Regions from separate parts of the Homo sapiens genome. Here region 2 is linked to region 1. The links are contacts of gene promoters, found by promoter capture Hi-C in blood cells and fetal thymus (Javierre and others, 2016). All regions are on one chromosome and are shown on one strand. The core of a region is centred on a gene start or on the middle of the fragment in contact, and the rest is flanking DNA. Distances in the headings are between cores, read along the strand shown. Region 1 holds the start of CTLA4 (cytotoxic T-lymphocyte associated protein 4). Region 2 overlaps CD28 (CD28 molecule).

Evidence for each region. Contacts are between HindIII fragments. The CHiCAGO score rates a contact against its expected background, and 5 or more counts as called.
Region 2: a fragment that was not itself captured here is called in contact with the fragment with the promoter of CTLA4 in region 1 in 1 of 17 cell types (total CD4 T cells); the score reaches 5.3 in total CD4 T cells.

Annotation. Positions count from the first base shown.
Region 1 is chr2:203,865,280-203,869,437 of GRCh38, forward strand. It overlaps CTLA4 (cytotoxic T-lymphocyte associated protein 4), which reads left to right and starts at 2,492. Exons shown (of 4, transcript NM_005214.5): 1 at 2,492-2,772. The coding sequence starts at 2,664. The HindIII fragment of the contact is 240 bases long and covers 2,359-2,598 here.
Region 2 is chr2:203,722,047-203,726,204 of GRCh38, forward strand. All of the region lies in intron 1 of CD28 (CD28 molecule), which reads left to right. Among named protein-coding and RNA genes, the nearest start is that of CD28, 17 kb to the left of the region's middle. The HindIII fragment of the contact is 8,566 bases long and covers 1-4,158 here.

The DNA of each region.
Region 1 (4,158 bases), core at 1,242-3,741:
CTGCAATCCCAGCTACTTGGGAGGCTGAGGCAGGAGAATCACTTGAACCCAGGAGGCAGAGGTTGCAGTGAGCCGAGATCGCGCCACTGCACTCCAACCTGGGAAACAAGAGTGAAACTCTGTCTCAAAAAAATAAAAAAGAAAAGAAAGAAAACTTGACATTTGAATAATTTCTGCAGCACCACAGTACTTCTCAAACCATAATTCTGGTGTCATTCATTCTAAACTTCTCCTTCCACTCACTGATTGTGGACTAGTCCCATAGGGACCTCGTCTTCACAGCTGTCATTACCTTAGTTTAGACCAGGGGTTGGCAAACCATGGCCCACAGGCCAAATCCAGACTTCACCTATTTTCGTAAATGAAGTTTTATTGGAATGCACACACACCCATTTGTTTACATATAATATATGGCTTCTTTCATTCTAAAATGACAGAGTTGAGTAGTGGCAACAGAGACCCCACCGTTTGCAAATCATAACATATTTACTATTTTGCCCCCTTCAGAAAGCTTTCCAAATCCTGGTGCCTGGCGTATTCCAATAGTCTTCTTCCCAGTCTTCCTGGTTACATTTCTCCCTGAACCCATCCTCCCCATCCCTAAAATTTCCCCCAAATGTGAACTCAGTCATACCAGTTTGCTCCTTATGTTTCATTGGCCCTTGCTGCTAAGAGCATCCGCTTGCACCTTCTGCTCATCCCCAGACAAGCTTTGTCCTGTGACCATAATGAACTCTTCATGCCGTTTCCAACTTTAGCCCATGTTATTCTTCTTGTCTGAATATCCACCCTTTTCTCTGTTCTCAATAATAAGTTCAGGCTTTTCGTCTTCTGAGAAGCCCTTTCTGACTTCCACAGGCTGAACCACTGGCTTCTGCTCCTCTACATAATACTTCAATTCCAGCATTGATCTCACTCTATCATGATCATGGGTTTAGCTGTCTGTCCCTGCCACTGCTGTGTGTTCCTCTTGAGGGCAGGAACATTTGTTTTTCACTTTTTAAAAAACCTCTGTTGCCCAGTCTGGCATTAGGAAGTGCCCATTAGGTTGTTATTGCTTGTTGGCGCTTGAGCTGGGGCTTGAAGGTTTCTATAATGTGTAGCAGTGTATAGAAAACAGGCAGGTCAGAAAAGGCTTCTGTGCATCACACCAACATGGCACATGTATACATATGTAACAAATCTGCATGTTGTGCACATGTACCCTAAAACTTAAAGTATAATAATAATAAAATTTTAAAAAAAAAAAGAAGAGGCTTCCTGGAGGAGATGACAGCTGAGCTAAGTCCTGGAGGATGAGAAGGAGTATAAAATAAGATAATAGGAGAAAAAAGGCAGTAGGAACAGCATGGGTAAAGGTGATGAGGCCTGAAAGAGGCACGTGGAAGGAAAGACAAATGCAGGAAGGGGGAATGGGAGGGAATGCTGGGGTACAGGCCAAAGAGGGAGGCATTTGGTGAGTATTCTGCAGAGTCTCCTCTGCTGTGCTGAGGTGTGGACAATGGGAAACCATGGACGGACTGGAGTAGGCAAATGTCATATTCCCTGTTACAACTGTCTGTTTGCATGTCAGCCTTCTAGAAGCCCCTTAAGGTATCAACTATGTTTTTGTTTTGTCATCATTCAATCCTAAGTGCACAGAATTCCGGGCATATTACAGGTTCCCCATGAATGTTTCTTTCTTTATTAAAATGTATGAAAACTCTCCAGATTTAAGGAAGGTCCTCAATGTTTCAAATTCTTTTTGTTAGATCATTGGTCCTGTCTACAGCTGTCACAAATTTAAGGACTCTGGTTATATTTAATCTTCACTTTTGAATTTTCTGCTTGAAAAATTTGTATTAGAAAAAAAAGTCTATCCTTTTATGGACGGCTCTAATCTCTTGAATCATTTGGGTTGGCTTTTCTTTGGACCTTCTTCAACTCTGTTTTGTCTCTGTTGAGTTAAGGCTTTTAAGAACACCTGAATTCTTTCCTTCTGCAAAACCAGAGGCAGCTTCTTTTCCGCCTATTTTCAGTTTATTTCTTGTGATTTTAGTTTTTTTCTCTTAACCAAATGCTAAATGGATTTAGGAGAAATAAACTTATTTGTAAAGCTGTCAAGGGACCATTAGAAGGATGGTGCTTCACAGATAGAATACAGTTTTTATTAATGATGCCTAGACAAATCCTGCCATTAGCCCAAGGGCTCAGAAAGTTAGCAGCCTAGTAGTTTTGGAGTTGTCAATGAAATGAATTGGACTGGATGGTTAAGGATGCCCAGAAGATTGAATAAAATTGGGATTTAGGAGGACCCTTGTACTCCAGGAAATTCTCCAAGTCTCCACTTAGTTATCCAGATCCTCAAAGTGAACATGAAGCTTCAGTTTCAAATTGAATACATTTTCCATCCATGGATTGGCTTGTTTTGTTCAGTTGAGTGCTTGAGGTTGTCTTTTCGACGTAACAGCTAAACCCACGGCTTCCTTTCTCGTAAAACCAAAACAAAAAGGCTTTCTATTCAAGTGCCTTCTGTGTGTGCACATGTGTAATACATATCTGGGATCAAAGCTATCTATATAAAGTCCTTGATTCTGTGTGGGTTCAAACACATTTCAAAGCTTCAGGATCCTGAAAGGTTTTGCTCTACTTCCTGAAGACCTGAACACCGCTCCCATAAAGCCATGGCTTGCCTTGGATTTCAGCGGCACAAGGCTCAGCTGAACCTGGCTACCAGGACCTGGCCCTGCACTCTCCTGTTTTTTCTTCTCTTCATCCCTGTCTTCTGCAAAGGTGAGTGAGACTTTTGGAGCATGAAGATGGAGGAGGTGTTTCTCCTACCTGGGTTTCATTTGTTTCAGCAGTCAAAGGCAGTGATTTATAGCAAAGCCAGAAGTTAAAGGTAAAACTCCAATCTGGCTTGGCTGGCTCTGTATTCCAGGGCCAGCAGGGAGCAGTTGGGCGGCAGCAAATAAGGCAAAGAGATAGCTCAGAACAGAGCGCCAGGTATTTAGTAGGGGCTTCATGAATGCATGTGAGTTGGTTTAGTAGAGAGACACAGGCAATTTCAGACCCTTCTATGAGACTGGAAGTGATTTAAGAGGGAAAGGATAGCCATAGTCCTGAATACATTTGAGCTGGGTTTCAGGATGAGCTCACAAGTTCCTTTAAAAAAAATTGACTTAAGCAAATCCTGGGAAGAGTTTTTTTGCTATACAATTCAAGGTTTTAAGGTCCTCGGATTCATATACTTTATAAATGAATTAGCCAGCTTGTTTAAAATGTAGGGAAATTGTGGGAAGAATGCCTTCTTTACTTAATTCAAGGTTTTAAGGTTCTCTTAATCAATTCTACTAGCTAATTAGCCAATTATTTAAAAATAAAAGTTTGAAATTGCCAAAAAAAAAAGACAAGGAAAAGGAAAGAAAGAAAGCCACCAGTCTGTTTGGCATACAATACTTAATTGTTGCCTGACCTACGTGTGGGTTTCAGATGCAGATCCTCAGTTTTCAGCTCTTCAGAGACTGACACCAGGTTTGTTACACGGCTTAAAATGATGAGTATATCCATTGAATCTCAACCTTATCTCTCTCTAGACCTTCTTGGTTAAGAAACCATGTAGTTTGTATGAAGTAGGTACTCAAAAGATATTTGATGATTTAATTTTTACTGGAGAAGAAATATTCATATATGTTTTCTTATTTTTACATGTTTTAAATATGTAAAGATTAAATAAACACTCTTAGAAGTATTTAAATTTCCTAAAGTAAATTTATCTCAACCAGTAACAGGACCCTCCCAATACTGGAAAGTTGAGTGTGACCGCATTTAGTGGTGATGAGTGTGAGCTTGCTTGGGGAGAGGGCAGGACATTTAGGATTTCTTAAGCTTAGAGTCAATACAATAAAGATTATTGAGTGCTCACTTGGGTGGGCTATAATCACTGCTCACAGGAGTTCATGAACCACAAGTAAAAGAGTGAGGAGATATGATTAGCTCACAAATAACTTTAATACAGAGCAGAAAGTAATGAACTACTGCAATGGAGTTATCACAGTGCTAAGGATGCTCAGAGGGCATCTCTGATAGGCAGAGGTGAGGGTTAGGGAAGGAAGCTGTAGTCTAGCTAGCTAGAGCTGCTGGAATAGACATGACAATGGCTGCTGCCAAACTGTTTTC
Region 2 (4,158 bases), core at 997-3,496, 140 kb before region 1:
CCACAAAGAAGTCCTATTCTCATTCCCATCTTTTTCTTTAAATCAGCTCACAAAGGCAGATCAGGAAGAATTTGAATGTGCATTAAAACAGAATCCAAATAATTAGCAATAGAAACACAATTCCCAGGGCGGTGAGCAAGCAGAATACAAATGCCTAACCTGCACTCACTCTCTGAAAAGGAGGAGAGATGCAGGCATTGCTTGCTGGAGTTGGTTGCTCTTCCAATTAGAACTGACCTAATGACTCCTTCTAAGTAAAAAAAGGAAACAAACAAAATAAATCAAAAACAAAAAAACAAATTGGATGTTTGTATTAAGACAGGTCGAACTTTTTGATTCTTTGCATGTTTATTTTTCAGTGCTTTTGCAAAATATTTGTGGAACAAATAATAGGTGAAGTTAAAGTTGTTGACACAGGTTTCCAAAAAGGATTTAATGAGATGGTAGTCAAACCTAGCTGCTGATAACAACAATACAGCCGAATCACCATCTTTCACTCCACAATTATTTTATGAGAGTCTATTAGTCATACTGTGTTATGTAAAGAAGCATAACATGTGGTCCTTTCTGTCAAGAGACTTGGAAACCAGGGGCCTAAGGGAAATGCACATGAATCCAAAGCTAAGCAAATTGAAGCATGTGAAACAAGAGTTGTTTAAAAGGTAGAACTCAAATGTCAAGTGAGCGATACAGATAGTAATCATTTTGAGACCTGAGAAGGGAGTGGTGCTCTGTGCCAAGGAGTTAGTAGACAAGGCATGGAGGTAGGAATGCTCACAGTCTGTTCTTGGGATGTTGGCTTAAATGGTCTAATTAGGAGGGCTTCGGTTTGAGGAAATGAGGTTGGAAAAACCTGTGGAGGCCGATTTGAGGATAAGAAGTTAGTTTTCCTCTGTTAGGCCACTGGTTCTCAAATTTGACTGCCATCTAGAATTACTAGAGAAACTTAAAAAATATGAATGGATGCCTGGGTCCTATACCTAGAGATTCTGATTTAATTGGCCTTGGAAAACCAAAGGCTTTTAGATTTTTCCAGGTGATTCTAAATATGTTGTCAGGTGAATTCCACTAGGCCATAGTGGCTTTCAACCCAATTGAATATTAGAATCAAGTGGGGGAACTTTTAAGATAATATGAAAGACAATCCACAGAATGAGAGAAAACATTTACAAATCACATATCTGATAAGAAACTTGTATCAAGGCTGAGGCAGGCAGATCATCTGAGGTCAGGAGTTTGAGACCAGCCTGGCCCACATGGAGAAACCCCATCTCTACTAAAAATATAAAAATTAGCTGGGGGTGGTGGTGGTCACCTCCAATTCCAGCTACTCGGGAGGCTGAGGCAGGAGGATTGCTTGATTCTGGGTGGCAGAGGCTGCAGTGAGCCAAGATCATGCCACTGCACTCCAGCCTGGGTGACAGAGTGAGACTCTGTAAAAATAAAAAAAAAAAAGTATAAAAAATGCATACAGAACTCCAATAATTCAATAATAAAAAGATAAATAGCCTAACCAGTTAATAAATGGGCAAATGATCTGAATAGAGAGTTCTCTAAAAAGAATAGACCAATGGCTAATAAGCACATGAAAAGATGCTTAGCATCATTAGTTATTAGAGAAATAGCAAATCAAACCATGATGAGATATCACTTCACGTCCACCAGGATGGCTATAATAGAAAAGATGAACAATAACAAGTGTCGGCAAGGGTGAGGATAAATTGGAGCCCTCATTCACTGCTGGTGAGAATGTACAATGGTGCAGTTGCTTTGGCAACAGTTTGACGATTCCTCAAAAAGTTAAACATAGAGTTACCATATGACCCAGCAATTTTACTGCTGGCAAATACCTAAGAGAGTTGAAAACATACGTCCACACAAAAATCTGTATGCAAATGCTCATAGTAGCATTATTCATAATAGCCAAAAAGTGATGAATAGAAAAACAAAATGTAGTATAGCCATACAATGGAATATTATTTGGCCATGAAGAGTGAAGTTCTGGTGCATGCAACAACATGGATGAAACTTGAAACATGGATGAAACTTGAAAACATTATGCTAAGTGAAAGAAACGAGACACAAAAAGCCACATATCGTATGATTCTACTTATAAAAAAAGTCCAGAATAGGCAAATTCATAGGGCCAAAGTAGATCAGTGGTTTCCAGGGATTTAAGGGAGGGAGGAAGCAGGGTGATGGTAAATGGGTATGGTATTTCTTTATGGAGTAATGAAAATGTTCTGGAATCAGATAGTGGTGATTCATTCATAACTTTGTGAATATACTAAAAAATCTCTGAATTTTACACTTTAAAACAGCAAACTTTATAGTACCTGAATTATATCTCAATAAAGTTATTATCTAAAATAAAGAAAAAAAACTTAGTATCAATCCTTCCCCCCAGCCTAGACCAATTAAATCAGAATTTCCGGAAGTGGGAGGACTTGGGCACAGATATTTTTTCATTTTAAAGTTCTTGATATAAAGCCAGCAATGATTTTTTAAAAAGAATTTTGTAGAGATGGGTTCTTTCTATGTTGCCCAGGCTGGTCTTGAACTCCTGGGCTCAAGCATTCATCCCGCCTTGGCCTCCCAAAGTGCTAGGATCACAAAGGTGTGAGCCATCATCCCCAGCCAGCATTATTGATTATATAGGAGACAAAAAGCTACTATTAATTTAGTTCTATGCCATTTCCTTCTTACCAAAACCAAAACAAAACACCTGTGTATATGAATTCAAATTCAGTTAAATTGTAAATTTCATTTAAAAATGAATCTGATTTTATTTGGCTCTTCAGTGTGGGTATACGGGATGTTGCTTCAAATAAACTTAAAAGAAATGCAAGTAGGTAAATAATTATTAACATACCCCAAAACAAGAGCAAAAAAATGCTTTTGTTTGCATTGAAATTTGAATCAAAGACACAAAGTGGTTTGTTGTTTTAGAAAAATTCTTGAGGGCCAGGCGCAGTGGCTCACACCTGTAATCCCAGCACTTTGGGAGGCCGAGGCGGTGGATCACCTGAGGTTGGGAGTTCGAGACAAGCCTGACCAACATGGAGAAACCCCGTCTCTACTAAAAATAGAAAATTAGCCGGGCATGGTGGTGCATACCTGTTAATCCCAGCTACTCGGGAGGCTGAGGCAGGAGAATCACCTGAACCCAGAGGGCGGAGGTTGCAGTCAGCTGAGATCGCACCATTGCACTCCAGCCTGGGCAACAAGAGCGAAACTCCGTCTCCAGAAAAAAAAAAAAAAAGAAAAATTTTGGAAGGTGTCTTGGTTGCAAAGTTGATTCCCAGTTTCTCAGTGCTTCAGTGGTCTATTTCTCAGGTGGTCATAGCCAACTTGGGTTTTAGTTCTGGCTTTGCTCACCATTTGTTTGGTGACTTCAGACAAACCAGCTAATGTTTCTAGGCCTTATACAATCATTAGAAAAGAAAAAAAAAAAGAAATAATATTGTCCTGTGCCAACAATGAGGATACCATGGGAAATGAGATCAATGTGTTCTCTTCACTTATGGAGTTGATAAACTAGTTTCAGGTTCTTTGCTTTTAAAGATTGAACTAAATGCTCTCCAGATTCTTTGATCTTTTATTGGGATAGCAGTAAAGGTAGATGATGGACCAGAGAGATAACTCCCCTCTGGAGTCTTTCACCTTTCATGATATAAGGGAATAGATCTATGAATTTCTTGGGGAGGCTATTCTCTGAATTTGGTGCAGAAAACACATTAAAGCAAACTCTTGGGTTATATTTTTTCTTATCTCTTCATCCCACTCTTGCAATGGGCAATAAACAAAGTAAAAATGTTTCAAAATATTTTAATTCCTTTACAAAAACCTGTATCACAACTTAAAAACAAATCTATTTGTAGGTTGGGCATGGTGGCTCATGCTTGTAATCCCAGCACTTTGGGAGGCCAAGGTGGTCAGATCACTTGAGGCCAGGAGTTTGAGACCAGGCTAGCCAACATGGTGAAACCCCGTCTATACTAAAAAAATAGAAAAATTAGCTGGGCGTGGTGGTGCATACCTGTAATCCCAGCTACTTAAGAGACTGAGGCAGGAGAATTGTTTGAACTCGGTGGGTGGAGGTTGCAGTGAGCTGAGATTGCACCACTGCACTTCAGCCTGGGCAACAGAGCAAGACTC